Regions from separate parts of the Homo sapiens genome. Here all the other regions are linked to region 6. The links are contacts of gene promoters, found by promoter capture Hi-C in blood cells and fetal thymus (Javierre and others, 2016). All regions are on one chromosome and are shown on one strand. The core of a region is centred on a gene start or on the middle of the fragment in contact, and the rest is flanking DNA. Distances in the headings are between cores, read along the strand shown.

What was found. Contacts are between HindIII fragments. The CHiCAGO score rates a contact against its expected background, and 5 or more counts as called.
Region 1: a contact is called between a fragment that was not itself captured here and the fragment with the promoter of NABP1 in region 6, in 2 of 17 cell types (non-activated CD4 T cells and naive CD8 T cells). The highest score is 7.5, in non-activated CD4 T cells.
Region 2: a fragment that was not itself captured here is called in contact with the fragment with the promoter of NABP1 in region 6 in 6 of 17 cell types (total CD4 T cells, total B cells, non-activated CD4 T cells and 3 more); the score reaches 10.3 in total CD4 T cells.
Region 3: a contact is called between a fragment that was not itself captured here and the fragment with the promoter of NABP1 in region 6, in 12 of 17 cell types (monocytes, total B cells, activated CD4 T cells and 9 more). The highest score is 23.6, in monocytes.
Region 4: a contact is called between a fragment that was not itself captured here and the fragment with the promoter of NABP1 in region 6, in 7 of 17 cell types (non-activated CD4 T cells, total CD8 T cells, naive CD4 T cells and 4 more). The highest score is 10.5, in non-activated CD4 T cells.
Region 5: a contact is called between a fragment that was not itself captured here and the fragment with the promoter of NABP1 in region 6, in 3 of 17 cell types (total B cells, activated CD4 T cells and non-activated CD4 T cells). The highest score is 8.5, in total B cells.
Region 7: a fragment that was not itself captured here is called in contact with the fragment with the promoter of NABP1 in region 6 in 1 of 17 cell types (naive CD8 T cells); the score reaches 5.3 in naive CD8 T cells.

Annotation. Positions count from the first base shown.
Region 1 is chr2:196,640,626-196,644,549 of GRCh38, reverse strand. All of the region lies in intron 1 of CCDC150 (coiled-coil domain containing 150), which reads right to left. Among named protein-coding and RNA genes, the nearest start is that of CCDC150, 2.9 kb to the right of the region's middle. The HindIII fragment of the contact is 153 bases long and covers 1,213-1,365 here.
Region 2 is chr2:196,216,441-196,220,192 of GRCh38, reverse strand. HECW2 (HECT, C2 and WW domain containing E3 ubiquitin protein ligase 2) reads left to right here. Exons shown (of 29, transcript NM_001348768.2): 26 at 40-154; 27 at 3,100-3,185. Among named protein-coding and RNA genes, the nearest start is that of HECW2-AS1, 42 kb to the left of the region's middle. RefSeq lists a silencer at 441-641. The HindIII fragment of the contact is 4,378 bases long and covers 1-3,752 here.
Region 3 is chr2:196,240,681-196,244,624 of GRCh38, reverse strand. It overlaps HECW2 (HECT, C2 and WW domain containing E3 ubiquitin protein ligase 2), which reads left to right. Exons shown (of 29, transcript NM_001348768.2): 20 at 2,421-2,541. Among named protein-coding and RNA genes, the nearest start is that of HECW2-AS1, 17 kb to the left of the region's middle. RefSeq lists an enhancer at 3,367-3,416. The HindIII fragment of the contact is 2,772 bases long and covers 1-2,726 here.
Region 4 is chr2:196,181,089-196,184,944 of GRCh38, reverse strand. No RefSeq gene overlaps it. Among named protein-coding and RNA genes, the nearest start is that of STK17B, 11 kb to the right of the region's middle. The HindIII fragment of the contact is 255 bases long and covers 2,094-2,348 here.
Region 5 is chr2:196,277,059-196,280,862 of GRCh38, reverse strand. It overlaps HECW2 (HECT, C2 and WW domain containing E3 ubiquitin protein ligase 2), which reads left to right. Exons shown (of 29, transcript NM_001348768.2): 15 at 2,201-2,335. Among named protein-coding and RNA genes, the nearest start is that of HECW2-AS1, 19 kb to the right of the region's middle. The HindIII fragment of the contact is 362 bases long and covers 2,019-2,380 here.
Region 6 is chr2:191,676,700-191,680,587 of GRCh38, reverse strand. It overlaps NABP1 (nucleic acid binding protein 1), which reads right to left and starts at 2,452. Exons shown (of 6, transcript NM_001031716.5): 1 at 1,883-2,452; 2 at 1,460-1,598. The coding sequence starts at 1,973. RefSeq lists enhancers at 82-1,281, 2,109-2,611, 2,821-2,900 and silencers at 1,751-1,810, 2,411-2,760. The HindIII fragment of the contact is 1,958 bases long and covers 2,033-3,888 here.
Region 7 is chr2:196,197,602-196,201,893 of GRCh38, reverse strand. HECW2 (HECT, C2 and WW domain containing E3 ubiquitin protein ligase 2) reads left to right here. Exons shown (of 29, transcript NM_001348768.2): 29 at 506-4,292. The coding sequence ends at 617. Among named protein-coding and RNA genes, the nearest start is that of STK17B, 28 kb to the right of the region's middle. The HindIII fragment of the contact is 8,632 bases long and covers 1-4,292 here.

The DNA of each region.
Region 1 (3,924 bases), core at 40-2,539, 5.0 Mb before region 6:
GTGGAGACTCCTGGTAATGTTACCACATGAGCCAGTATAGTATTCCTCAAGTAGTAAACGAAAGAGCCTCTGAGTAAGCCCGTCGGGCTGGATCAGCTGCCATAAACCAGGGCTGCAGTTGGTGGAGCCACCAACAGCACTGGGTGGGGAAAAAATGGAGGGGTAACAATGGAGAAACACCTCCATTCTATTTTCTGTCACCTGCTGTCCAGCTACTGACCTAGAGATAAATCATGCCAAAGATGGGGAGAAAACCTAGGGAAAGGGTGGCTAATAGGGTGTGCGCAGACACAGCTCCTTTGTCCTCTCTCCAAAAGAAGCAGAAAAGCTCATGACCCCAGCCTCGCCTCAGCAGGCACACTCATGTGATATATTCTGGCCAAAGAGACTTTGGGCAGAAGTTTGCAAAAGGGCTCCTAGGCAGACTTTTGTTTTTCTAGATTAAAAAAAGAGTAATGATGGCACCTGTCTTTTCCTACCCCCTTACAATTCCCAGAGCGTTCCATCAGTCAGGTATGCAGCAGCTCACTCTCAAATATAAACGAAGAGCCAAGGATCACCAGTGTCTGATAAACACAAGGAAAAGACAGAGAACCTCAGACTATGTTGACACTTGGGCAAAACCAGTAATCTTCAAACTCTGCTTATGTGAGATAAAAAACTTTTTTTTGTTTGTTTTAGTCACTTTCTTCTACATATAGTAGGCCCAGGCATTAGCTGGTGGAAAAACAAGTAGAAGGAAGAAGTAAAAATGACAAGCAGTGCTGGAGAGGGGAAGGGAGAACAATTTCTGTGGCAATTTATTAGACCCAGGTAGCTGGTTATAATATAGAGTCTTGTCTATGTTCATTTATATCAGAAGCCAAGCACATAATACTAATACTCATATTGCAAAAGTCTGTCTTTGGAAAAAAATGGAAATGGAGAAGCTCCCCCACATATTTTGAATAGGATGCAGATTCCCAACTAAAATTTTTTCATGTAATTGTTCAAATGTTTAGTTTTGTTGATATTTCCCTAAGGAACCTATGATCTGTATTAAATGCTTACATTGGCTCTCCAGGACATGTGTACATTCAGCCATGAAAACAAAACAGCAAATCATTTAAATTGCTTCACTTGTTTTAAAAAAAAGAAGGTCCAACATGTCGCGGTAGGAATTTGGTTTGCATCCACACTGAGTGCCACCCGACCCTGCTCTACACTGAAGCTTCTCAGGCTTCCATAGAGAAAATATACTTTCAAAAAGGAGCAACCAACTTGGCCCAGCCTCTGAGGGGAAGGAGGTTTATAGAAAATTCACCCTAAGAAGGGGGAGATTGAGGTGACTCGGACACTGATTGATGGTTGGCAGGGCACAAAGCTTTTGAGTGAAATACATGGTGTTGTCCTTAAAATATCCTCTTAGTCAATCGCTGAGAATCCTGTTCAGGTCATCAAAGTTGCTGAAACAAAAATTAAATAAGCCAATCTAGCCTTTGGGGATTTACTAAAAACAGATCTCATGGCCAGGCACAGTGGCTCATGCCTGTAGTCCCAGCATTTTTGAAAGGCCTATGTGGGAGGATCACTTGAGGCCAGGAGTTCCAGACCAGCCTGGCCCACATGGCAGGACCCTATTCTCTTCCAAAAATTTTTAAAAATGAGCTGGGCATGGTGGCCTGTGCCTGTAGCCCTAGCTACTTGGGAGGCTGACGCAGGAGGATCACTTGAGCCCAGGAGGTAGAGGCTGCAGTGAGCTATGATTGTGCCACTGCACCCCAGCCTGGGTGACAAAGCAAGACCTTGTCTCTAAAAAAAAATAAAAAATGAAAACAAGTCTCAGGGTTAGTTAAAAACCTTCCCTCCCAACCACCACCTCCACTTCCCGCCATGGGAAAACAAAAACAAAAACCAAACAATGCCAAGGTCAGGAGAGTCCTTGGAAGCAAGGGAGGGGGCGGTAATGGCTGAGTAGCAAGAGGACAGCCTTAAAGCCACCAGGCAGAGTCCCCGAGTATCTGGGAGGCTGTTAAAGTATGAGATAAGAACTTTCAATCCAGTAAATTAATCTACCAAGTTGGGGCTTAAAGTTAGAGAGAGATTCTCATTTTCACTGCAGTTGCTCATACCCTTGCCTGTCCTCCCCATCTGGTAGGCCCAAAGCAGTGGTAGCAGAAATGCCACCCACACCCCTACATACATAAATACACGCACACTCTCCAATGGCCACTTGGCAGATCCTCATAAGTCATAGTTCTATGGCTCATAGTCTAAGAAGCACAGTCTTACATGAAAACAATCTACCTCTAATGGCTGACATTCTAGCAAAGAGACAACAGCTTTAACATATCTGTGCTTTGTTGTGTTTGAAAAGGAGCAAATATTGATTGCTGCCTTGAACCTAAGTCCTAACGCTTGATAGTAACAATAATAAAAATACTGAGATATAAACTTTTATTTTTAAAAAAGTTCATTCATAACTAATTTCTATGCATATATTATTATCAAACTAACAGAATTCTGTCTTGATGTTTAGGGAGAATATTTCCAAAGAGCTTCTAGGCAGGTAACCTTATGGAAAGCATGGCAAGAAAAAGACCAATGTCACAAGTAATATACTAGTAAAAACCAGATGACTTTGAAAAGAGAACACATGCTTCTGTGGACACAGGCTCCATTCCTACACCTGGCAATAGGTGTACACTGGCAAAAGCGTATACAAGTACATGCTGTTGGTTCCAAAATAACAGTCCAGGGAGTCAATGTTGTTTATCACAACCACTAGAAAATAATATGGTAACACTGTCTTCATTCACTCACACATCTAACAAATATTTCCTGAACATTTACCATGAGCCACACACTGTTATAGGCAATGAGGCGGGGGGCAGGGGTTGGGTAGAACAGTACGAACAAAACTCCCTGCCTTCGTGGAGCTTATATTCCAGCTGAAGAAGACAGACACTAAGTAAAATACATAGTTTGTTTATTGGTGATAAGTGCAAAGGAGGAAAATGAAATAGGAAAGAACATGGTATGGAGGCTACAGGGCAGATTTTCATTTTAAACAGGGTGGTCAAAGAAGGCCTCATAACATTTGAGCAAAGACCTGTTATATAGATATCAGAGGGCAGAAAGGCCCAGAAGACGGAAACAGCAAGTGCAAAGGCCTGAAGTTAGAAGGTCTGATGAGTCCGCACATAATAAAGAGGTGGGTTTGGCTGGAGAGGAAGGAGTAACACAGAGAACATTGAGAGATGAGGTCAGACGGTAATAATAAAACCAGAATACGGCTGGGCGCGGTGGCTCACGCCTGTAATCCCAGCACTTTGGAAGGCCGAGGCGGGCAGATCAAGAGGTCAGGAGATCGAGACCATCCTGGCTAACACGGCGAAACCCCGTCTCACTAAAAATACAAAAATAAAAATAAAAAAAAAATTAGCCGGGCGTGGTGGCGTGCTCCTGTAGTTTCAGCTACTCGGATGGCTGAGGCAGGAGAATGGTGTGAACCCAGGAGGCGGAGCTTGCAGTGAGCTGAGACTGCTGCACTCCAGCCTGGGCGACAGAGCGAGACTCCGTTTCAAAAAAACAAAAAACAGAATACACAGAGCCTTGAAGGCCATTGTAGAAGTCTGGCTTTTGCTGTCAGTGATTCTCAGAGTCACTGGAGGTCTATAGCTGAGGAATGCTATCCAACTTTCCTTTTAACTGGATCATTTTGACTCCCTCCCACTCCAAATGGTGGAAGAACAAAAGCAGAAGTAGAGATGCTGCTGGCCAGAACCAAGGTGACAGCAGCGGTATTCCTACTGTAAGAAGTGGTTAGTGGTTAGATATACTTGAAAGATAGCTTTTGCTGATGCATTAGATATGAGATATGAGGGAAAGGAAGAAGCCAAGATTACTACAGGGTTTTTGGCCTGGATGGTGCTATCACTGAGA
Region 2 (3,752 bases), core at 508-3,007, 4.5 Mb before region 6:
GGCTCCTAAGCCATGCCTTGTACTCTTTTTATTCCACAGGTGGTGGATGCCAGGCTGGTATCTGTTTTTGATGCAAGAGAACTGGAATTGGTCATCGCAGGCACAGCTGAAATAGACCTAAGTGATTGGAGAAACAACACAGAATATAGAGGAGGTGAAATTTGATTTATAGATGGCTAGATTTTAAATTTCAAATTAAAGGAAGGCATGGTTCAGCTTGCCAACTGAATATAGGACAGGCAACAGCACTTGGACTCTAATCATAGGTCTGATGCAGGCTCCCTTGAGACCTTGGGCAAGGTACATTCTCTTCTTTTCCTAATTACCTCATCTGTCAGATGGGAGAAGGACTGTTTACACACCGTCAAAGGATGTCATAACTCTTAATTGTTGGTGAGGAAATGTGACCGTAAGAACACTAATTAATTACTTTATCGTGTTGTCAGTGAAGCACCAAGGAGCTAACATCCAGCTGGTCAAACTCCACCTATTCCATTTTGTTTCTAAAACTTAGAAAAGCACACCCTTTGAGCTTCCCAATCAGCACAGTTTTTCCACTGTTCACTACGCTCCTTATCAGTTGTAATTCATAGTCAGAACACTTGAATGGAATAAGACACAGTTCCCAAAATACAACATTATTGGAGAAGTTCTAAATTCAAGCATGAATTTCAAGTGAAAAGAAGACTGTAGTAAGATTAATTAAAAACTGCACTATCTGACACTTCACAAAATGGGAAGCTAAAAAAGTGACACTTCTGCAGATCAGTACAAATTATTGATTAGTAACTGGGACCAAAGCCATTGAAATTTGAGTGTTAAACCAACACTTTGCAAGGGACCTGGTGGTAACCCAGAGTTAAGGTTTTATTAAATAATTTTAAGCAAAGAATACATTTTCTGAAAATTATCACCATGTTAGGAAGCCTTCAGAAATTCATGACAAATACCAGTTGTTTTCTCCTTTGGGTTTTGTTTTTTAACTCAAAGTATAAGAGATTAGAAGTAGTTCTGAACTTGGAGAATGAAAACTACAAACCTAACATCACTGAATTAATCACTTAGCAGAGTAAATTGAGAGCTGAACAGTTCTCTAGTTATCTCTAAGTTGAAGCAGAGATTTTTTTTAAAAAAGGTAGTTTTAAAAGTTTGTAGTAAAAAAATGCCTTAACATTTGCTAAATTGCTTTTGGTTATGCCTGTGCTTGCCTGTTCCAGCTCATCCCTGCACCATGGGCTGGCCTTGCTCACACATTTAATCTGAAAGGCTGTATTTAATTGCAGTTTCCATTGCTTCTATTTCTGAAGTCCAATTGCTGAAATAAGTATTTTCCAGTTGGCCCAAGTATAATCCATGTATCTCTTTGGTTATTATAATGTTGTTAACCCATCGATTTTTACTGAGAGCACAATTTCTCTGACATGCTACATAAGTTATATTTTACCATAAATATTATTAGCTCATTCTTTCCTTCCAGGAGATGAATTTTTTTTTTCAGACAGAGGGTGTATGCCACCATACCTGGCTAATTTTTGTATTTTTAGTAGAGATGGGGTTTCACCATGTTGGCCAGTCTGGTCTCGAATTCCTGGCCTCAAGCGATCTCCTGCCTTGGCCTCCCAAAGTGCTGGGATTACATGTGTAAGCCACCACGCCCGGACCCAGGAGATTCTAATAGCAATGCATTAATAGAATCAGCCATTTTTGTATTTTCATGGCATAAAATTTTATTCACTAAATCTGACTAATCAAGGACCTATTTATATGGTTATTGTAAATCTTATCAAATGAAATCTTTGGGAGGGGGAAGAAAAATGCTGAGAACCTCAGCTGCCATGTTTGCTCACCCAGCTACTTGGCACTGAGTAAAGAAGCGGCTGTGTGGCTGCCACCTGCCATATGTTCACACCCCAGCTGCTAGGAGAGAATATGATGAGACACATTCACTCTTCTTCCTCCAAAAGGTTTGGCACAAATAGCAAAAGGGAAGCAGAAAAGGGCTAATTCATAAGGTCAAAAAACTTTAAAGCTACAAAGAGCCAGTGCACTTCTTTTGTAGATGAGAAACTTTGCTCAGTACCAAATTGCTAGTCTTCACCAAACTCTGGGCATGGCCCATGTGTCCTCATGTTCAATCCAGTTTTGATCAGCCTTCTCTTTGATCCTTTTTTTCTCCAAAGGGGACTAAACATCACTGAAATGGTAAACAGTAAGGTGAGATTCCTCCCAAATCCTACAACTACTGAAATGTGAGGAAAAATTTGGATTAAAATAATTTCTACCCGCCTTCTATTCTGGACTACTAACTCAGTGCCCATTAACTATGTCTATTCATTGGTTTGAATCACTAAATCCTTGTTAGCCTTTTCTCTGAATTTAATTTTTGTTTTCACTGAAAGGTTTTTGGAATCCATCATCACTGCCCATGAGGTGATTCCTTTGACATTTTCTTAAATTCTACTAAAGTATGGAATAAGAGTAAAATTAAGTTGGTGATTACTCAGGATTTATTTAAGGAACTAAAGGTCACTTTTCCCTTTTTATTAGTAAGTCAATGTGAAACTAAGTTGATTTTAAAGTATGAATATTATATATAGCTTTTAAGAGAGCTTGCAGTTATGTATTTGTTTGTATAAATTATTTGATTAATGTGTCTCCCCTCTGCCAGAAGCCCTGGGAGGGTCTGTTTTCTTTGCCATTATGCCCCCAACCTTGGTACAGTGCTTGGCATAGAGGTATTTGAAAATTATTTCTTATGTGAATGACCGAAAGAGTTAAGTATTTCCAGTAACAACTGTTGTATTTTACAGAAATGATATGGTTAAAATAACTCATTTGTTGTTCTTCTCTTTACTAGTTTCACTTAGTGACCGTTAAATGAAAACAGAGACCTCTTGGTTTCACTTAATGTTGTTTTTGTTTAACTTTTGACATTCATATGATCATATATACAGTGTTATTCCTTAGTCTTAAAATTATAGACAACTTGTAAAGAATTCAAGAGGATGATTTATGTCTGGGGACTCTTCGTGTCACGTATCTTGGTGGCTTAATATAGAAGAGTCAAAGTAACATGGGCTTTTATGATTGGTTTGATAGGATACCATGACAATCATATTGTAATTCGGTGGTTCTGGGCTGCAGTGGAAAGATTCAACAATGAACAACGACTAAGGTTGTTACAGGTGAGATGCCATTATTTAATCTTTTAAATGTATCAATATGATTATTGTTGGAAGTGTATGTTTTTAATAACTGCTAACTATTCTCCATAAACACATACCATGTGTATCTGGAAATATGAGATACACCATTTCCAGACTCCTGATTGCATGGTTATGTGACTCCATGGCTATTCAGAACTTCCCTAAGCCAACTTAAAGCATTTCATGAGAGTTTAGGGAAGTGTCAAGTCCAGTCCAAGAATCCCAGTAACAACATCTGCCTTCAGGACAGCTTGGACCCTTCAGCAAGAAGCACCCAGGGTACCCAAAGTGCAGGCCGGCATCCCTAGCAGCAGAAAGAAATGATTTTAAGTTCTTTAAAAAGGGATGCAGTTAGTTGACAGTCCTTTCTTCTCTTTCATCTAACTTTCCACAAATTTGAGAAAACAGTGACATTCAAGAACAGTGGGAAAACTAACTTGTGTTTTTTTTTTTTTTGCGTGTGGTGTTTATGGTCATCCAGGACAATTACTGATCAGTTGCAGCTATAGAAATACCAGACACAAGGAAGTCTCTGGATGCTCAGGC
Region 3 (3,944 bases), core at 91-2,590, 4.6 Mb before region 6:
CTTTTTTATAACATTACTATTACTTTTGTGTAACACTGATCTTAACAAATGCTTGCGGGGCTTGGGGGGCAGGCAGCCATGTCATTGAGTGGCTGCCGCAAAGTGGTGAGCTCATGCCTCGTCTAACAGAGTAGCTGCAGCTGCCCGCTGGATCCCCAAGGAAATGCAAGCCAGTCATTGCAAGATTTCCCAAATAATTTTCAAGAGAAAAATCTGGAATTTTTAAATTTGAAATTTAATTTGTAAATGTTGGCAATTAATTTAAAATATTCAAAAAAGATTATGGGGCAAGCAACTGGGATCTATAGGACTAGGTATAGCCCCAGGGGTATAGCTTTGTTTCCTCTGCTTTCTAGTCTGTATACCTAGTTCAGGACTTAATTATTCTCTAATTGTTTGATGTTTTATTTCTGTTTCCCCAACCCACTCCAGCAACCCCACCTTACTCATTTTGGACATCCATTGGTGAACCTAACATAGTATTCCCAATGAATAACAACTATTTAGTTCACTCATTTGTTAGAGACATTTTTAATGAACTTACATGGTATGTAATGAACAAGACTTCCCAGCTTTTGTTTTCTGGTTTCTTTCATTGGTTGGGAAATATTTAGTGGAAATATCCAGTGTTTTTGTCATGGCTCTGTGTCTGATTTCCATATTCATCATCAGTTTTCTATCCCAACCTGCTGCTTGTGTTACCCAGTGACACAAAACCAGATTTTTCTATGGAAAGAGGAACAATTGGCTGGGCATGGTGGCTCACGCCTGTAATCCCAGCACTTTGGAAGGCCGAGGTGGGCGGATCACCTGAGGTCAGGAGTTCGAGACCAGCCTGACCAACATGGAGAAACCACGTCCCTGCTAAAAATACAAAATTAGCTGGGCGTGGAGGTGCAAGACTGTAGTCCCAGCTACTCGGGAGGCTGAGGCAGGAGAATCGCTTGAACTCAGGAGACAGAGGTTGGGTTAGCCGAGATCACACCATTGCACTCCAGCCTGGGCAACAAGAGCAAAACTCCGTGTCAAAAAAAAGGAAAGAGAAACAATGTTACTTTTACATATTATTAGTGATAATTACCATTGAATAACGTATAAAATATGCTTATATAATCTAGATATTCTCAGTACTTGGCACATGTTAAGAATGCAATAAATGGTCTGGCGCAGTGGCTCACACCAGTAATCCCAGCACTTTGGGAGGCCAAGGCAGGTGGATTACCTGAGGTCGGGAGTTCAAGACCAGCCTGACCAACATGGAGAAACCATGACCCTACTAAAAATACAAAATTAGTCGGGCGTGGTGGCACATGCCTGCAATCCCAGCTACTCAGTAGGCTGAGGCAGGACAATCACTTGAACCCGGGAGATGGAGGTTGCGGTGAGCTGAGATTGTGCCATTGCACTCCAGCCTGGGCAACAAGAGCGAAACTCCGTCTCAAAAAAAAAAAAAGAATCCAATAAATATTAATATTATTTATTCTTTGTGCAAGTGCGCACTTTGTGCAAGTGAGACAGGTGCCTTTTGCAATTATGTGTTATATTAAGATTTTACCCTGCAATATGAGATTTATGTAATTATGTGTCTAAAATCATTCTTGGTGATAGTGCATATCTAAAAGAAGTTTTGTAGGCCAGGTGCGGTGGCTCACACCTGTAATCCCAGCAATTTGGGAGGCTGAGGTGGGTGGATCACCTGAGGTCAGGAGTTCCAGACCAGCCTGGCCAACATGGCAAAACCCTGTCTCTACTAAAAATACAAAAATTAGCTGGGCATGGTGGCAGGCACCTGTAATCTCAGCTATTTGGGAGGCTGAAACAGGAGAATCACTTGAACCCAGGAGGCGGAGGGTGCAGTGAGCCAAGATTGCACCACTGCACTCCAGCCTGCTGGGTGACAGAGTAAGACTCCGTCTCAAAAAAAAAAAAAAAAAAAAAAAAAGTTTCATGAGGAGTTTTTTGGTGAGGAATTTAGAGTGAATGATTAAAACCTCACTCTTGGTGCCACTTACTTATATACCATGTACTTTCCATTGCAACTTCCTGTCTAATTGCCATGATATCATTTCAGCAGCAAGCAAAGACATTTCATCCTAACAGTTACTACTAGACATGAGTAACTCTGTTTGACTCATATTAGTTTCGACTGAAAAGGGGAACATACTTGAGAAACACATGGGCACCATTGTAACTATTCAAACAGAATTTTTATTCTCAACCAAAATGCCACAAAGAGGACGTCACTTAAGACCTTGGTTGAGGTTTGTTATATCCTTCAACTTGCAGAAATCAAAAATGCAGAAGTTAAGACAGTTGCCTCATTTGACTTGTTGATTGTGATAGCTTTTGTCCATGGTGATGTGATGAACATAAGGACGAGGCACAAATCCAGATTGTCCTCTCTTTGTGGTTTGCTGCAGGTACCCAGCGTGCCAATGCCCGGGCTCCAGCCCCTTACAAGCGGGATTTCGAAGCCAAACTGAGGAACTTTTACAGGAAGTTAGAGACTAAAGGATATGGACAAGGCCCAGGGAAGTTAAAGTAAGTCAAAGTGACACAAACCACATAATGTATAGATGGTGAAAGGAGAGGGCACAGTTGGGCCTCTAGGAAATTGATTGTGATTTGGGATGACTAGCCTTCATTTTAGTCGGCATAATTATTTTGGAATTTGTAAATTATAGGATCATCTAAAACATAGTCCTGGAATGAAACATGATTAAGCTTAACATTTTAAAACAAATAGTGAAGACACTGCCACTTTTCATGCAAAAATAAAGGCAAAATAAAAGGCTGATTTATTTTTTTCCTCTGAAAAGTATGTCTTTGTTGGTGCATAGTATATTCATTAGCTATAAAGCTATCCCAATGTCCTCCACTGCAAGTTTCTGTCTCCTGAACTGACCTGAGTGTAGGAATAGTGCTCAGCTCTGTTCAGTTCTGTGAAACAAACTTCACAGCAGAACATGTCATGAATGTTGTTTCGGCCTTTCTTCATCCATCTCCTCCTTTCAAATGGGGAAACTGAAACATCATCATGTTGTTTGGCCTAGAATTGTTTCCATTCCCTACTTACCCTTCTTTCTCTCCTCCCTGCCTTCACCCCTGTCCCACGTCCCCACTGGAGATCAGTCTGCCACTGAGAGAGGACAGAGGAGGGACGGTCTCCACTGGAGCACCCCTGTGACCCTGGGTGCCTGAGAGACGGTCCAGAGACCAGACCAACAGCAGCCCCATGGCTCACTGCCCCACCTGCAGGAAGGCTTGCTTGATTAAAATCCACCTTCATTGCCCTAAAAAATCATCTGCCTGCCCAAACACCATACTTCTCTGAGCTTTACTTTTCTCACACTTAACTTACAAAGGTCTAGGATGATCCAGCTGTCATGCATTCAGCCTCCCTATCATCTCTCTGCCCATTACCATTTACATTAAGAGCAAATTGATATCTATGGAAGGATGACTTTAATTGGCATCATCACAAGTAGATTAACCTGCCACACTCATCATTCATTTGTATCTGTCCCTTAGGGACTGTCAAGATTCACTTAATTTAACAATTAACAATTGGAAACTCCTCTGCTTTGGAGGATATTGAGAATTTTTTTTTTCCTCTTTGTTCTCACAGTCATCTTGCTGGGCACTTAATAATTGAATTCCTTGTCTACATGCATTGAGACTTAAAACATTGCCTCATAGAGTTGTTCTTGCTTTACTAAACAAAATGTATGGGCGGGGGGCGGTGTGTGTGGTGTGTGTGGTGTTGTTTTATGATCATTTTTTTTCTGGGATAAACTGATTTGACCATTTAGATAGGATTCTCCGGTTGTTTACACTGGTCATAGGTAGGGTACTCTACCAATGATTCTCTCATGTAACTTTTGCTAATGCTATTAAGAGTTCAAGACAAATGTGTACTTTATTGCAGACAGCAATGATATTAA
Region 4 (3,856 bases), core at 972-3,471, 4.5 Mb before region 6:
TATCACCCAGGCTGAAGTGCAGTGGCACAATCTTGGCTCACTGCAACCTCTGCCACTGGGGTTCAAGTGATTCTCCTACCTCAGCCTCCCGAGTAGCTGGGATTACAGGCACCTGCCACTGCACCTGGCTAATTTTTGTATTTTTAGTGAAGACGGGGTTTCACCATCTTGGCCAGGCAGGTCCTGAACTCCTGACCTCATGATCCACCTGCTTTGGCCTCCCAAAGTGCTAGGATTACAGGCATGAGCCACCATTGAGCCACCGCACCCAGCCACCATTACTTCTAATAGTTCATTGCTTTGTACTTGTTAAGGGCTCAGTAGATGTTACTTTCCTTCCTCCTCCTGTCCCAGTGGACTGGCTTCATAGCTCCTGTCTATTGTCTTTGGGAGGCCACCAAATCTCAAGGCTATTTATATGGAAAGGGTGATTGAGCTACCCTAGCTCAAAACGTAATCCAGTCTTCCCTAGGTCAGACGACAAAACCACATATTTCTGCATGTCCCTTTGTCCATTCTTTCATCCATCCCATGAACACTTACCATACTTTGTGCCAGGTACCATAAGTGCTAGGAAACACTGCTGAATAAAGCAGCCATGTTTCCTGCCTTTGGGGAGTTTACAATGTCATGGGGAAGATGGGCAATAAACAAATAAGTCCATAATTACCAATGGTTATAAAAAGTGCTATAAAGAACAGGGAGCAGCAAGGGATGGAGAAAGCCTCTCAGAGGATGTAACATTTAAGATGAGAACTGAAGTTGGAAGAGCAGCCAGTCATTGGAAGATCAGAGGGAAAGCTCCCACAGTATCCTATCATTGCAGTCCTATAAACATCCAAAATAATTACAGCGTATACTTGAAAGACAGAATGGCTGCCAAGGAGAATCTTCTCACATGTGAACGTTGTAACATCTATTATGTTTCTCAGAAGAGTTTTGACCTACTTCCTGTTCCTTAGAAGTTAGATAACCAGATAAGTAGGTTCCCACTATAATAATATAAACTTATTTGAATAATGAGTTACAGAGATGGGACATAATGGAAAATAAAAGTGAGAACAGGTAAGCTGTACTTGGATTGTAGTGCAGTATCCTGAAAAGAAATGGGATTTGTAATCTGAGTTCAAATTTTGTCTTCACTCACTCCCTATATGGCCTTAAGTAAGTCACTCAAACTCTGTAAGCCTGGGTTTCCTCATCTGAGAAGTGAGAATAACCATTCAAGGTTGTGTTCCAAGAATTAAATAAAATGACGGATACATTGCACCTTGCGTATAAATGTATTGCCCCGCTTTACTTAGAACATTCCTCTGTGTCATTTCACTGTAAAAACAATTAATTATTTGTACTCTTAGTTCTTCATTCTTACTACAGAAATGTCAACTTTTAAAAACAGCAAGTACATTTCTTTCTCTTAAATATCTTCCTCTAACCTTAGCTCTTGGTTTGCAATTCTTAGTTCTGTGCTAAATCTTATTACTTTAGGTGGCAAATCATTCTTGATTTTCCTAAATCCCCACCTGAAACCTCCTCAGGCAATCTGGGCCACAGCAGGGAGTGAGTGTGGCCCGGCCAGATGGGGAGATGTGAACACTGTTTTGGGGCTTCTGGTGCTGCACACACCTGCAGGTAAGACAGCCGTGGGGCTTGGTCTGGCTTGCCATCTGGACTTTGGGTCCTCCAGAAAAATTATGTTTCCCTTTCTTCTGCATTGTTCGCAGCTGATCTGTCATAGGGCTCCTATAATGCTTCAGGCAAGGGGTGGGGTGAGAGAAAAGAGAAAGCATGTCTCAGGTAAGTGTGCTCTCTGGAGAGTCTTCTCTGTTAGGGGTCACTCGAAAGAGCCCACAGTCTTCAGCCCTAGACTGAACCCTGACCTCTGATGGACAAGTCACTCTCACGACCTCTGTTCTCATCTGTAAAATGGGATAACACTAGCTTTGCTAACAGTAATCCCCAGACTGTTGAGGCTCAGATAAGTCATTGCATGTGAAAGCTCTATATTGACTAAAATGCTGTACAGACATCAAGTGTTATTAATATTAATATATCCTGTGCCACATTCAGCATGTGTGATTGACCCAGAAGCTTTCAGACCTACTCAGGACTGAGCTACTAGAGGGGATTTTTCTAGGTCAATGAGTAACAGAAAGTGTCTCAAAGGTATTGCCTATTTTTACTGTGAAAGGACAACCTCCTCAGAGACAGGCTTAATGAGAAGAAGAACGCAAGGACTGGTGATTAAGAGATAATTATATACAAAACTAGCCTATTCTGATAATTTGTGTGATTTATTTGGGCAAATTATAAATGTGCTGTTAGCTTAGGTTAAACTAAACAAAGCTTACTGAATTAATGGCGACTGATCAAATCTTTATTTCTGCAATTTCCTGTTCTTAGCAGGAAGAAAAAAAAAAGGCCTGGGTGAGAGACAGGAAGAAATAAAGACAACTGATTTTATGCCTGTGGAACTTCTCTCAAGTAGACCAAGATAATCATCTGTCAAGTGCTCAAACATCTCATATTTTAAAAGGTGCATCTGTAGTTTAGGCTTGCAAGAAATAGCTTAACAATGGTCATTCCATGTGCCAGTTTTTAAATTTCTCAACCTGTTCTCAAGGTGGGGTGTACTAATTTATGCTTGTCTGTGGATTTCTACTATACACAAGCCTTTCTGCTGAGAAGTTAACTGTGGAAATTGGAGATGAGAGGAAATAGCAATGGGTTGCTCACCTTGTACGTTTTCCCTAAATTATTTCAAGACGCTGCTTCAAAGAATCCTTCATCTGTGGTAGTATTTCAACTGTAGAAGAAGATGCTTTTTCTAGTCAAAATTAATTTAAGTCCCTAATAATTCGAGTTAGCATGAAATGGAAAGATCTGAAGGGCCCAACTGACCTGCACACTTTTCACTTTTGATGTCTAGCAATAAGGTAGTAACTAGACTAGAATAGAAATGCGTTAAAATTTGCTTGCGAAATTGTAGAAGGCAGAACCATTCCAGGCACTAGCAGCTCAAACAGAAAAGCGTTATATTTTATATGTCGTATTAAATAATAATGAAAAGTAACCTAATAGGAACCAGTTCCAAAATCCTTTCTGGATAATTTGGTACATTTGAAATCTAGTATGCTTTTCATGCCTCTCTTAAGCACTCTATAAAACAAGATTCTCTCAAATGCGTTAGAAGATTTCTGTTTTGACTGGCTCAGCGAGGCTGGAGGTACTTGAAATGATTTATAATGAACTAAGCACATGGCATGGCGTCACCAGGCATTCTCTTCAGAGCCTCTTGCCCATTTTATAGAAATTGCACAGCTGGGAAGTAATACAATGAAAATCTTACACTCTGCTTGTTGAAAGTTGGATCACAATTCCAAAGTCTAAGTAAAAATGTATAGCCAGAGTAGAAGGCCAACATTTTTTTTCATCTTTCAAAAAGCTAGATGTTTTAACTTATTTGTGTTGTTGTTTGTTTTCTTTTTTTCTTTTTTTTTTTTTTTTTAAACAGGGTTGCCCAGGCTGGAGTGCAACGGCACAATTATAGCTCACTGCAACTTTGAACTCCAGAGCTCAAGCAGTCCCCCTTCTTCAGCCTCCTGAGTAGCTAGGACTACAGGCGCATGCCACCATGCCTGCCTAATTTATTTATTTATTTATTTATTTATTTATTTTTGTAGAGACAGTTTCACCATGTTGCCCAGGCTGGTCTCAAACTCCTGGCCTCAAGTGATCCTCCTGCCTCAGCCTCCCAAAATGCTGGGATTACAGGCATGAGCCACCGTGCCTGGCTGTTGTTCGTTTTCTATGGCAGATAAAACAAAGGGTACATTTATTTTGCTTTCTTTTTATT
Region 5 (3,804 bases), core at 950-3,449, 4.6 Mb before region 6:
TATTTAAAAATAGGTATTAGCCACATCCATTGGTGCAAAATAGTTTAATTGCTATTTTATGACATTTTGAGTAGTGGCAGAAATAGTGGACAATTGTATTAGAAGCACAAACCAAATGGGACCAATGTGACATTTGGGGTCAGAACCTGTCAATGCAAGTCCACACAGGTTTTATCACTGGAGTACTTTTTACAAGACCTGAGAAGAAGGATGTTTCACTCAAGGTTAGTGAAGAGGAAACATTACCCAGGATGTGAGGCTGATGACAAAATCTCACACAAAACCTTTATTTTTTTGTACCCAGAATTGGATAGTAAGAGAAAGGACTGGGAAAGATTCCTGTTCTGTCCATTTTTCTGCTTTGTTTTCTGGTACATCCATTGCTTAAAGTTATTTCTTTATAAAGATGTAAAAATGTTTTCTATATGGGACCTGCCCCATTTCTTGATGATGTACATAGAGTTCCATATGAAACATTCTGTTCCATAATGGGAAAATAGGTTTCTAAATAGGCATAAATATACTATCTGCCTCTGGCATTTGCCTAGATACCTTCATCTCTAGGTGTTAAGGTACTTTGTTAACTGAGCTCCATTGGTTTGAAAGGTCAGTTCTTTTTTGCCTGTTATTTGGCATACATCATGTGCCTTGATACTTGGTTTATAGGTACTGAGTCTCCTGGCTCTCCTAATAGCCTCTTTCATCTTTGATGACCTAATTAACTATCTGATCATGGAAAACTTACAATTTCTAATTGTACTTAAGATAATGGGTTTCATTATTACCTTGAGTCAATTTTACTTTGAAAACTTACAACATTGGGCCCCTAAGGATAATGATAGATAGCACTTGTATAGTTTTAGAATTAAACAAACAGACCAAAAAATGCTTTGCTACATTGTAGTCCATCTTACTGCAATGCTGAGGTAAATGGTTTATGCTCATTCATGATTTCATGTTATCAGAGATTCTGCAGTGATCATGACAGACATGGCTTCCATTCTTCTAACACATTATGGGGGAGAAATGTCAGGAATGAAGGAGACATGTTTTTGTAAGAAACATATAGCTCAGAGAACTTAAGTGACTTACCCAAAGTTCTAGACGGTATGTGATGAGTTTGTATGGGTGTGTAATGGGCGACTAAACTGGAAAGGCATGTAGGCAGACTGTTAAAGAGTAATGAAAAACTGACCAAAGAGTGGGAATGTCTTTTCTGTGGACAATGGATAGCCATGAGAAGCTTTGTATTGGGGTGGTGATGTAATTGAAGTGTTTAGAAAGAATATTCTTATAGTAACGGGCCAGTTAAATGACTATGGTGATAGAGATGTGGAGCAGCTGAGAAGCCACCAGCACTTACACACATAAAATAAAGTCCCAAAATAATGGGGTGGTGTTCAGGCTGGGAGGGGACAAATAGAGGACACTACAGTGAGAAAATGAGAAGGATTTTGTGGCTTACTGTATAGGAGAAGGAAGAAAGAAGAGAAGTCAATGATGTTTAAAAGTTTCGGCCAGGCGCGGTGGCTCACGCCTGTAATCCCAGCACTTTGGGAGGCCAAGGCAGGCAGATCACGAGGTCAGGAGATTGAGACTATCCTGGCTAACACAGTGAAACCCCGTCTCTACTAAATACACAAAAAATTAGCCGGGCGTGGTGGTGGGCGCCTGTAGTCCCAGCTACTCGGGAGGCTGAGGCAGGAGAATGGCATGAACCTGGGAGGTGGAGCTTGCAGTGAGCTGAGATCGCGCCACTGCACTCCAGCCTGGGTGACAGAGCGAGACTCCGTCTCAAAAAAAAAAATTTTTTTTTTTAAGTTTCAAGGTGGTAAGAACTTTATAATAACCACATATGACAGTAAGAGCTCAAAGACCATCAGTTAAGAGAAGCCTAAATGTCCATTCTTCTGGCTTCCTTCTTGGATCATGTCTTTGGTGACTATCTCGTGGAGCATTTCCTAAAACCAGGCATAATGTTCCTTCCTGCTCTCTTCGTTCTGGATCTCATCTAAGCTTGGCTTTCTCTAATCTGATCTGTCCTGTGTGGGTAAGGAGAAATTTCCCCAAAGATTGAAAATTATGAGAAAATAGAGCTAAGATTGTGACTCAGAAGTGAGTCTTTTCCTGACCGTCTGATGTTATAAGTCAGCTAAGACATGTGAGCGGCATGTATTTGACTCAGTGTATTGTATCCTAGGCATTCTTTGTGGACCACAACTCCCGCACCACCACTTTCATTGATCCCCGGCTCCCACTTCAGAGCAGTAGACCCACAAGTGCGCTGGTTCATCGGCAACACCTGACAAGGCAACGCAGCCACAGTGCGGGTGAGGTGAGTCATGCGTTTTGGGGACTGACCTGTTGGTTGATAGAAGCTTCTAGTATGTGATGGTTTGAGGAATTTGACTGATTTTTTTAAAGCATTTTTTCTTTTTTTTTTTTTTGAGTTTGATTTAGAGGCTGAAAAGCTTTCGAATGTTGACAGGGCTTCTCTGGAAATACATACAGCCTAAATCACAAATTTAAAAAGGTAGGATATATGAGGCAAAACTGACGAAATTTAAGATTTTTTGACTCAGAGGAAGGTGAGAGGGTGTTGATAATGTACTAAAATGTTCGAGACAGGAAGATGATAAGCCCATTTGCACACCCATTTTCAGCCTCACAGGAAGAAATGAATATAACTTGGTTAAATGTGGAATTTCTTTATATATATATATATATATTTTTTAATTATACTTTAAGTTCTAGGGTACACGTGCACAATGTGCAGGTTTGTTACATTTGTATACATGTGCCATGTTGGTGTGCTGCACCCATTAACTCATCATTTACATTAGGTATATCTCCTAATGCTATCCCTCCCCCCTCCCCCCACCCCATAACAGGCCCCGGTGTGTGATGTTCCCCTTCCTGTGTCCAAGTGTTCTCACTGTTCAATTCCCACCTATGAGTGAGAATATGCGGTGTTTGGTTTTTTGTTCTTGTGATAGTTTGCTGAGAATGATGGTTTCCAGCTTCACCCATGTCCCTACAAAGGACATGAACTCATCATTTTTTATGGCTGCGTAGTATTCCATGGTGTATATATGTGCCACGTTTTCTTAATCCAGTCTATCATTGTTGGACATTTGGATTGGTTCCAAGTCTTTGCTATTGTGAGTAGTGCCACAGTAAACATACGTGTGCATGTGTCTTTATAGCAGCATGATTTATAGTCCTTTGGGTATATACCCAGTAATGGGATGGCTGGGTCAAATGGTATTTCTAGTTCTAGATCCCTGAGGAATCGCCACACTGTCTTCCACAATAGTTGAGCTAATTTACAGTCCCACCAACAGTGTAAAAGTGTTCCTATTTCTCCACATCCTCTCCAGCACCTATTGTCTCCTGACTTTTTAATGATTGCCATTCTAACTGGTATGAGATGATAGAATTTCTTAAGTGAAGTTTTCTATATTACATTAAAATATCCATCCAGGGATATGGGATTATGGAATCCTCACTAGTATTCTTTAAAATTAGGATATTTTTGAGAGAGTTGATTTATATACTTTATGTGCCTGGAGAAAAAGGGCTGAACTAAGAATTACTAAAAACTGCTCTACTTTACCGATTTGCAGGGACCAATGGTAACCACACGAGGGCCCTCTAATATCCTAACCAAAAAAAAGAACAAACCTTGTTTCAGTTCTTCCTTTTGCAGCTTCAATATATAAAAGAAATGTCTTAAGTCAAGTTTTCTTCTCCTTCATATGGGCTTATGATTTGATTATATACCATCACTTGATTTACATTGTT
Region 6 (3,888 bases), core at 1,203-3,702:
TAAAAAATACTTTCAATCATTGGGTGAAAAATATTTGGGGAGCCAAAAACTCCAATTATACTAATCAATCCTCACCATACTTCCCTAAGAAGGAATTCTCTTTTGTTTTTTAAAGATGTGGAAGTTTAAATTACTGTCATGAGTCAGTGTATGAGAAGAAAATGTCTAAGTCCTGACTCTCACTTCCTGCTTTGATGACACTTTACCTCACTTCCTGAAGATGTTGTAAGCCTGCAAGGTAACACCAAGGAGCTCTAAGCTCCTACTCTCAGTGCTTTCCAATACTTCTAAGATTCTACTTATTAGGCCAACATCAATCTCCACCACTTTCCCTGCAGTTAATGATAAATTATTACAATTTTATTGATCTCAAAAGCTTCCAAATTCTGTTTTTAAGATCCTTTTCTGCCCTTTTATCTTCCTAAGATAAAAATTTGGTAAATTTCTAAAAGCAATCTATTTTTTAAAAAAAAAGTTCTAGTATTTTTTAAAGCCACCTATCCGCCAACTGACTCTTTTGGATGAAGGTATTGTAGATGCCTTTCTGCCAAACATTTTCTGTGTATCCCTTTGGTTTTTGCGCAACATCCACCTTACAGCAGAAGACACAAGAAATCATTTTGGAGAATGAGCCTTCCAGATACTGTAAAGTTTCCCTCTTTTTCCAAGTACAAATTTGACATATCACAGAATATGCTAAATCCTTTACCTATAATTTTCATTTATGTCCACATTTCTAAATAACATATGTAAAATACTGGCCAGGATTTCAAGTCATTAAAAATGGAGAAGGGGTGGGAAACAACTGAGTGGCAACTACACTAGAGAAAACAACTTATAAAAAAGAAAAAATATGGACTATACCAGTCTCCTAAAAAGACTCACTGACTCAGAATAGAACTAAAAATCTATGCCGGGCGTGGTGGCTCACGCCTGTAATCCCAGCACTTTGGGAGGTTGGGGCGCGCGGATCACTTGAGGTCAGGAGTTGGAGACCAGCCTGGGCAACACTCTGAAACCCCGTCTCTGCTAAAAATACAAAACTTAGCTGGGCGTGGTGGCACACGCCTGTAGTCCCAGCTACTTGGGAGGCTGAGGCACGAGAATCTCTTGAACCCGCGAGGCGGAGGCTGCAGTGAGGAGAGATCACGCCACTGCACTCCAGCTTGGCGACAGAGCGAGACTCGGTCCCAAAAAATAATAATAATTAAAAATCTACTTAACCTGTAAACCGGGGTAGAGGCGCGGATTTCCCAGCTGAAACCGACTGCCTTTCACTGCAAAGGTCTGTTACATCCCAGCGCTGCCCACCACCCAAAGTTAACACCAAAGGAGTTCAAAACTCCTCAAGAGTGGCCCACAGAAAAGGCGGGGGACTTCAGGGCTTGCCAAGATCCCAGGAGCCGGCCAATCCCGATTCTGCAGACTGTTAGGTCCCCCGACTTTTTTGCACACCTACCCTCTGGTCAACCGAATAATATCCCCTGGCTGTATAAGACCTCCGATCTCATCCCACACGGAAATAGTGATGCTGCCCGTTTTATCTGCTACTTTGCACGATCTCACTTCATGGCCGTCTTTGGTTTTGGTCACGCGTCCTGTGAGGATTTAAAAATCAAAGGGAGGGGTTGTTAGATAATGAGGACATCCAGAAAGGCTAACTCCTCCTCCGGTATTTTAATACATCTGGAAGGTGGGAAGTGACCAAGCCCAGGGCTCCCGCCTCAGGTAGGATCCGATCTCGGGCGGAGGCCACTAGAGCCACGTGGGTGGGGGAGGGGAGGGAGGAGGAGGGGAGCCCCGGGCGCGCAGCGGCCGGCGCCCCTGTCTCCCGCCCCGGGAGGCACAGCGGGCGGTGGAGTAGGCTGCAAACCCCACTTACCTATCTCCAGGACAATAAAGACGACATTTAAGTTTTTCAGTCCGGGCTTAATATCTCTTATAAAAATAAGTGGGTCGTTGACCCTATTCATATTGGGACAGGCGCGGCTACGGCTGCGGAGACGCGAGTGGGCAGGGCGGGGTCAAAGCTTCCCACCCTCCCGGGACAGGGGCGAAGGCAGAGGGGCGACCTTGGGCAGGGGTGGCGAGAGAAGGGGCAGAAAGCCGTTAGTCAGGGACCGGGCAAACCAGCCCGGACAGCACTGAGCCTAAAAAAAGAAAAAAAAAAAAAAAAAAAAAAAAGGCTCACAAGTTCTAAAGAAAAAAAGGCGAACCACTCCGCACACCAACCCCGCTCCCAACCGGGCGACAGGAAGGCAAGCGTACTAACTGCCCCGTTCTTTGGATAAAAGGAAAAAAAAACGCAGTGAGGGGACACTTCTGCCCTGAGTCCCGCTCACTCACACGGGCGCGCGCCCAGCCTGTCCCGGGCTCCGGGAAGGAACGGGCTGTGACAGCGAAACGGGAGCGGAGACAGAACACCGCACACCCAGCGTCCCAAACAGCGACTGATGAACACGCCCGCGCGCCGGCAGGACCCTCGGCCCGCCCCTCCCCTTGTGAAGTCACGCTGCGTCGGCACGCCTGCTGCCACGCCCGCCTGGTGCTGGGGAGGGGAAGCAAAGGGGCGGGACCCGGCCGCCGCAGCCCGCAGAGCTTCCCTCGCTCCTCCCCGGGGGCTGTCAGCGCGGGCTCCGCCCCCTCGTCCTTCCAATCGCTCTCGGCCCCGCCTCCCCCGCCCTCCCGTTCTCCACCCACTTCAGCTGTCGCCGCGCAGCAGCAGTTCTGTTCGGTTTCGCCTTCCTGCTGTGCAGTCTTTTGACGCTTGCTGTCCAACTTTGGAGTTTTCTTGCCTTTTTTTCTCTCAGAGTTGAGCCCCTGCCCGGGCCCTTTAGTCCCTCGGTCACGAGGAACGGTAGAGTTTAGAACCTGTGAGTACGTTAGAAAGTTCGCAGTCGAGGAAGAACAGGGTTCGGGCAAGGGCAGCTGGTCCGGTACCAAGGGAAAACAGGCTGGGATGGTGAAGGCGTCAGTGGCTACAAGGCTGGAAGTTTAGCACCAGAAGGGAATTTGGAGATCAATTCAACCGCCTCATTTCAGGCATACTTAAATTGAAACCCAGAAAGATGAGGTAATTTGCAGAAGGTCACCCAGCAACCCCTGAGCAGGCAGGACTGCAACACAAATGTCTGACGTGGGCTTCCACTGTGTAATGCTAAGCAGATAGGACGTAAATTCCTTTGCAGACTTCTCATTTTTCCTTACCCCCTGCCTCTCATATTACACACCTTCCCCATTTAGCTTTTCTTCTTTTACTTTGCACTTGCTTTTGTACATCTAAAAGGAATTAATTATTCAACAGCAGTGGGAACCCTTGAAACATAATCTGGAAAAAAAGATTAATAAAGTTTTTTTTATGTCGCGTAGTGAAAAGAGCATGTGCTTTAGAGACAAACCTGGGCTCCAGCTATTTACTTGTGAGAGCTTTAGGTCAATTGGCTTTTATTACAGCTTTTTAACCATAATAAAATGGGGATCCCTGCCTAGCAGAAGATTGATTAAATGGATCATAAATTGTCCAACTAGTGCCTAGCAAATAGTACATACTCAGTATTTTCCCCTTTTTAATCCCCGTTTTACAGGCGATGGAACTCACCAGAGACCAGATAGCTAGAGAATGGCTGAGCTGGGTTTTAAATCTAGTCAATCTTGACCCCAGAGCTCTCCAGCCTAAAGGTAATGTTTAGACTTAACTTCCAGTGGTGTCATTATAAGAGTCAAAAACAGACTGAAGAAATAAAATAGCAGAATAAAGTAGTGGGGCATTAAAGAATCATCTAGTTAATTCTTGGTGATGATAACAGAAATGTTGGGAAAAGTGTCAGAAGCCTTAATTTTCTCCCCATTCTTTCTGAGTATCTTTAGATCAACCACCACTTCCCAAGT
Region 7 (4,292 bases), core at 24-2,523, 4.5 Mb before region 6:
CCAAGACTCTAAGCCATGAGGCAGGCCCTCAGAGACACTGGCTCCTCTTCCCTGTCCAAGAAAATGAAAAAATGCATAACTACAGAGTATCGAAGAGACACCCAGGCATATGCCAACTCAAAATGAACTACTTTGCAAGGCCTTATGTCCGTGTATTAAAAAAAAAATCTAGCATCAAAAGAGAAACAAAAACCAAACTTGTCTTTGTAATCCTTAGACCACTCAATAAATGGTCATTTATATGTAATATAGCTTTTAAATGGTGGTGAAATGTAAATAAAATATTTTTTTAAATATCCTCTTTTCCTTAGAGAAATTCAGTTCTGAATTTTTAAGGTCAAAATGTTTTCAAAGATTTTTCAAAAGGAGTGTGAAAATTGGCAACAAATAAATTTGAATGTGAAAGACAGTCATACACACACAGACACACACACACACACACACCACACACATTTTCATTTCACTCGGCCTGTTCTAAACTATGTGCTGTTTCTTGTGTTTTCAGAGCGCATACATGTTTTAACCGTCTGGATCTGCCTCCCTACCCATCCTTTTCCATGCTTTATGAAAAACTGTTGACAGCAGTTGAAGAAACCAGTACTTTTGGACTTGAGTGACCTGGAAGCTGAATGCCCATCTCTGTGGACAGGCAGGTTCAGAAGCTGCCTTCTAGAAGAATGATTGAACATTGGAAGTTTCAAGAGGATGCTTCCTTTAGGATAAAGCTATGTGCTGTTGTTTTCCAGGAACAAGTGCTCTGTCACATTTGGGGACTGGAGATGAGTCCTCTTGGAAGGATTTGGGTGAGCTTGATGCCCAGGGAACAACCCAACCGTCTTTCAATCAACAGTTCTTGACTGCCAAACTTTTTCCATTTGTTATGTTCCAAGACAAAGATGAACCCATACATGATCAGCTCCACGGTAATTTTTAGGGACTCAGGAGAATCTTGAAACTTACCCTTGAACGTGGTTCAAGCCAAACTGGCAGCATTTGGCCCAATCTCCAAATTAGAGCAAGTTAAATAATATAATAAAAGTAAATATATTTCCTGAAAGTACATTCATTTAAGCCCTAAGTTATAACAGAATATTCATTTCTTGCTTATGAGTGCCTGCATGGTGTGCACCATAGGTTTCCGCTTTCATGGGACATGAGTGAAAATGAAACCAAGTCAATATGAGGTACCTTTACAGATTTGCAATAAGATGGTCTGTGACAATGTATATGCAAGTGGTATGTGTGTAATTATGGCTAAAGACAAACCATTATTCAGTGAATTACTAATGACAGATTTTATGCTTTATAATGCATGAAAACAATTTTAAAATAACTAGCAATTAATCACAGCATATCAGGAAAAAGTACACAGTGAGTTCTGTTTATTTTTTGTAGGTTCATTATGTTTATGTTCTTTAAGATGTATATAAGAACCTACCTATCATGCTGTATGTATCACTCATTCCATTTTCATGTTCCATGCATACTCGGGCATCATGCTAATATGTATCCTTTTAAGCACTCTCAAGGAAACAAAAGGGCCTTTTATTTTTATAAAGGTAAAAAAAATTCCCCAAATATTTTGCACTGAATGTACCAAAGGTGAAGGGACATTACAATATGACTAACAGCAACTCCATCACTTGAGAAGTATAATAGAAAATAGCTTCTAAATCAAACTTCCTTCACAGTGCCGTGTCTACCACTACAAGGACTGTGCATCTAAGTAATAATTTTTTAAGATTCACTATATGTGATAGTATGATATGCATTTATTTAAAATGCATTAGACTCTCTTCCATCCATCAAATACTTTACAGGATGGCATTTAATACAGATATTTCGTATTTCCCCCACTGCTTTTTATTTGTACAGCATCATTAAACACTAAGCTCAGTTAAGGAGCCATCAGCAACACTGAAGAGATCAGTAGTAAGAATTCCATTTTCCCTCATCAGTGAAGACACCACAAATTGAAACTCAGAACTATATTTCTAAGCCTGCATTTTCACTGATGCATAATTTTCTTATTAATATTAAGAGACAGTTTTTCTATGGCATCTCCAAAACTGCATGACATCACTAGTCTTACTTCTGCTTAATTTTATGAGAAGGTATTCTTCATTTTAATTGCTTTTGGGATTACTCCACATCTTTGTTTATTTCTTGACTAATCAGATTTTCAATAGAGTGAAGTTAAATTGGGGGTCATAAAAGCATTGGATTGACATATGGTTTGCCAGCCTATGGGTTTACAGGCATTGCCCAAACATTTCTTTGAGATCTATATTTATAAGCAGCCATGGAATTCCTATTATGGGATGTTGGCAATCTTACATTTTATAGAGGTCATATGCATAGTTTTCATAGGTGTTTTGTAAGAACTGATTGCTCTCCTGTGAGTTAAGCTATGTTTACTACTGGGACCCTCAAGAGGAATACCACTTATGTTACACTCCTGCACTAAAGGCACGTACTGCAGTGTGAAGAAATGTTCTGAAAAAGGGTTATAGAAATCTGGAAATAAGAAAGGAAGAGCTCTCTGTATTCTATAATTGGAAGAGAAAAAAAGAAAAACTTTTAACTGGAAATGTTAGTTTGTACTTATTGATCATGAATACAAGTATATATTTAATTTTGCAAACTTTTCACTTGTTTGTATTCTTTTCATTATAAGGAAAAGTAGTATAACACACTTTTTTTTAAGTCACATATTTGATGGTATACAAGATGTTTCAGGGCTGGCATTCTCCAAGCAGCAGATAAAGGTTGCATTTCTTTCAAAAATACATTCAAAGACCATGTTATCCTTCATTTTGGTTTGAGACATTTAGTTATGGTATTTCATATTATTAGGTAAAAGATATTTGAAATAAAATGTATCTCTTTAATTATTTCTAACAAATATATTTCTTTATTAAGGCATCCAACTTTTTCCCAAATAACAGTACACTTTAATGTATGTAGACATTCTTAATTAGTATAATCATCTAGTTGATACTGTTCTCAGATTGGGAATTATCAAAGATGTACTTATCATATCAGAACACCATGCTAACTTATCTATTATTCTTTCTTAGTAAAACAAAACAGCCAGTAATAACTATATAAAATATTAAATAACATTTCCACAGAATAAATTAGACTTTCATGTACTCTACAATTAGAAATATCCATAAATATTTTCTTCTGGACTGTGAACCCAGATAACTAGGCTTTCTGGTCTTATTTTAAGTGATGCTCTTTATACTATAGAAGACACTCTTAATACATCATATATGTATGCAGAACATCTCTTAGATGAGAGAACAAGCACATCATTGGCATTCCCTCTGTGCCAGTTTGATGTTTGTTTGACGATGGAGCTACAAGAGTCTAAATCTGCCTTTGAAAAGCTCAGCTCACAGTGTAGTAGAGTAGACTCCAAGGTTCAAAAAAGTGTTTTTAATAAAATTTGGTAAGTTCTACAATCAAGGAATGAAGAGAGAAGAGAACAGCTTTTTCCATCTGGGAGATTCAATAATGGCTTCATATATAGATGATAGTGTGGCTAAAAAAAATTACATCAATGCTGTTTCTATTGGGAAGCAATGGCAAGTAATAGTATGTCAATACTGGTCAAGTGTTGAAGCCAGGATGCACTTACACAACGAGAGTGTAAAGTGTGTAGGGAGCTGATCTGTGAAGGAGCAACTCAAAGATTTTGAAATTATCAGTGAAATGCCAAAACAGGGAAAGTTTCCCTGTTTCCCTTCATCTATTCTACAATGCACCATTGGTTTTCAGTGTGAAAAATCCCAATCCCTGAGCCCAAACCACTTCTGGGGTCAAAACATTTTTCTTGTGCACAAAATGAATGGATCTTGGTCAAAGAAGTATGGTCACAATTTTCTAGCATATATTGCGTTTATAATTTAGCAGAAATTCTGCAATAAATAAAGGAAAATCTGTTTTACCTGTGCAACAATCAGAAATGGTAAAAATGCATTCAAGTGTTTGAAAGAAATGGTAGAATATGCTTGCATAGTGCTTTATAGTTTCAAAGTGCTGTCAGGTACATCGTCCGTTTAGCTCCTCACGCACTTTGTAGGGTACAAGCATCATGTTCCATCTGGGTTGTGGCTGATTTTCATGGATGGCTTGTGGCATCAGTTTCATTACTTCATAGTCACAATTCTGTGTTTCATCTTGAGAAATGTGGAGACTAATGTTTGTACCAGTATATTCCACATTCAGTGAGGTTTCCAAGATGCTTCCTCCAAACTCTCACTTTCTTAAACAGATACATTTAA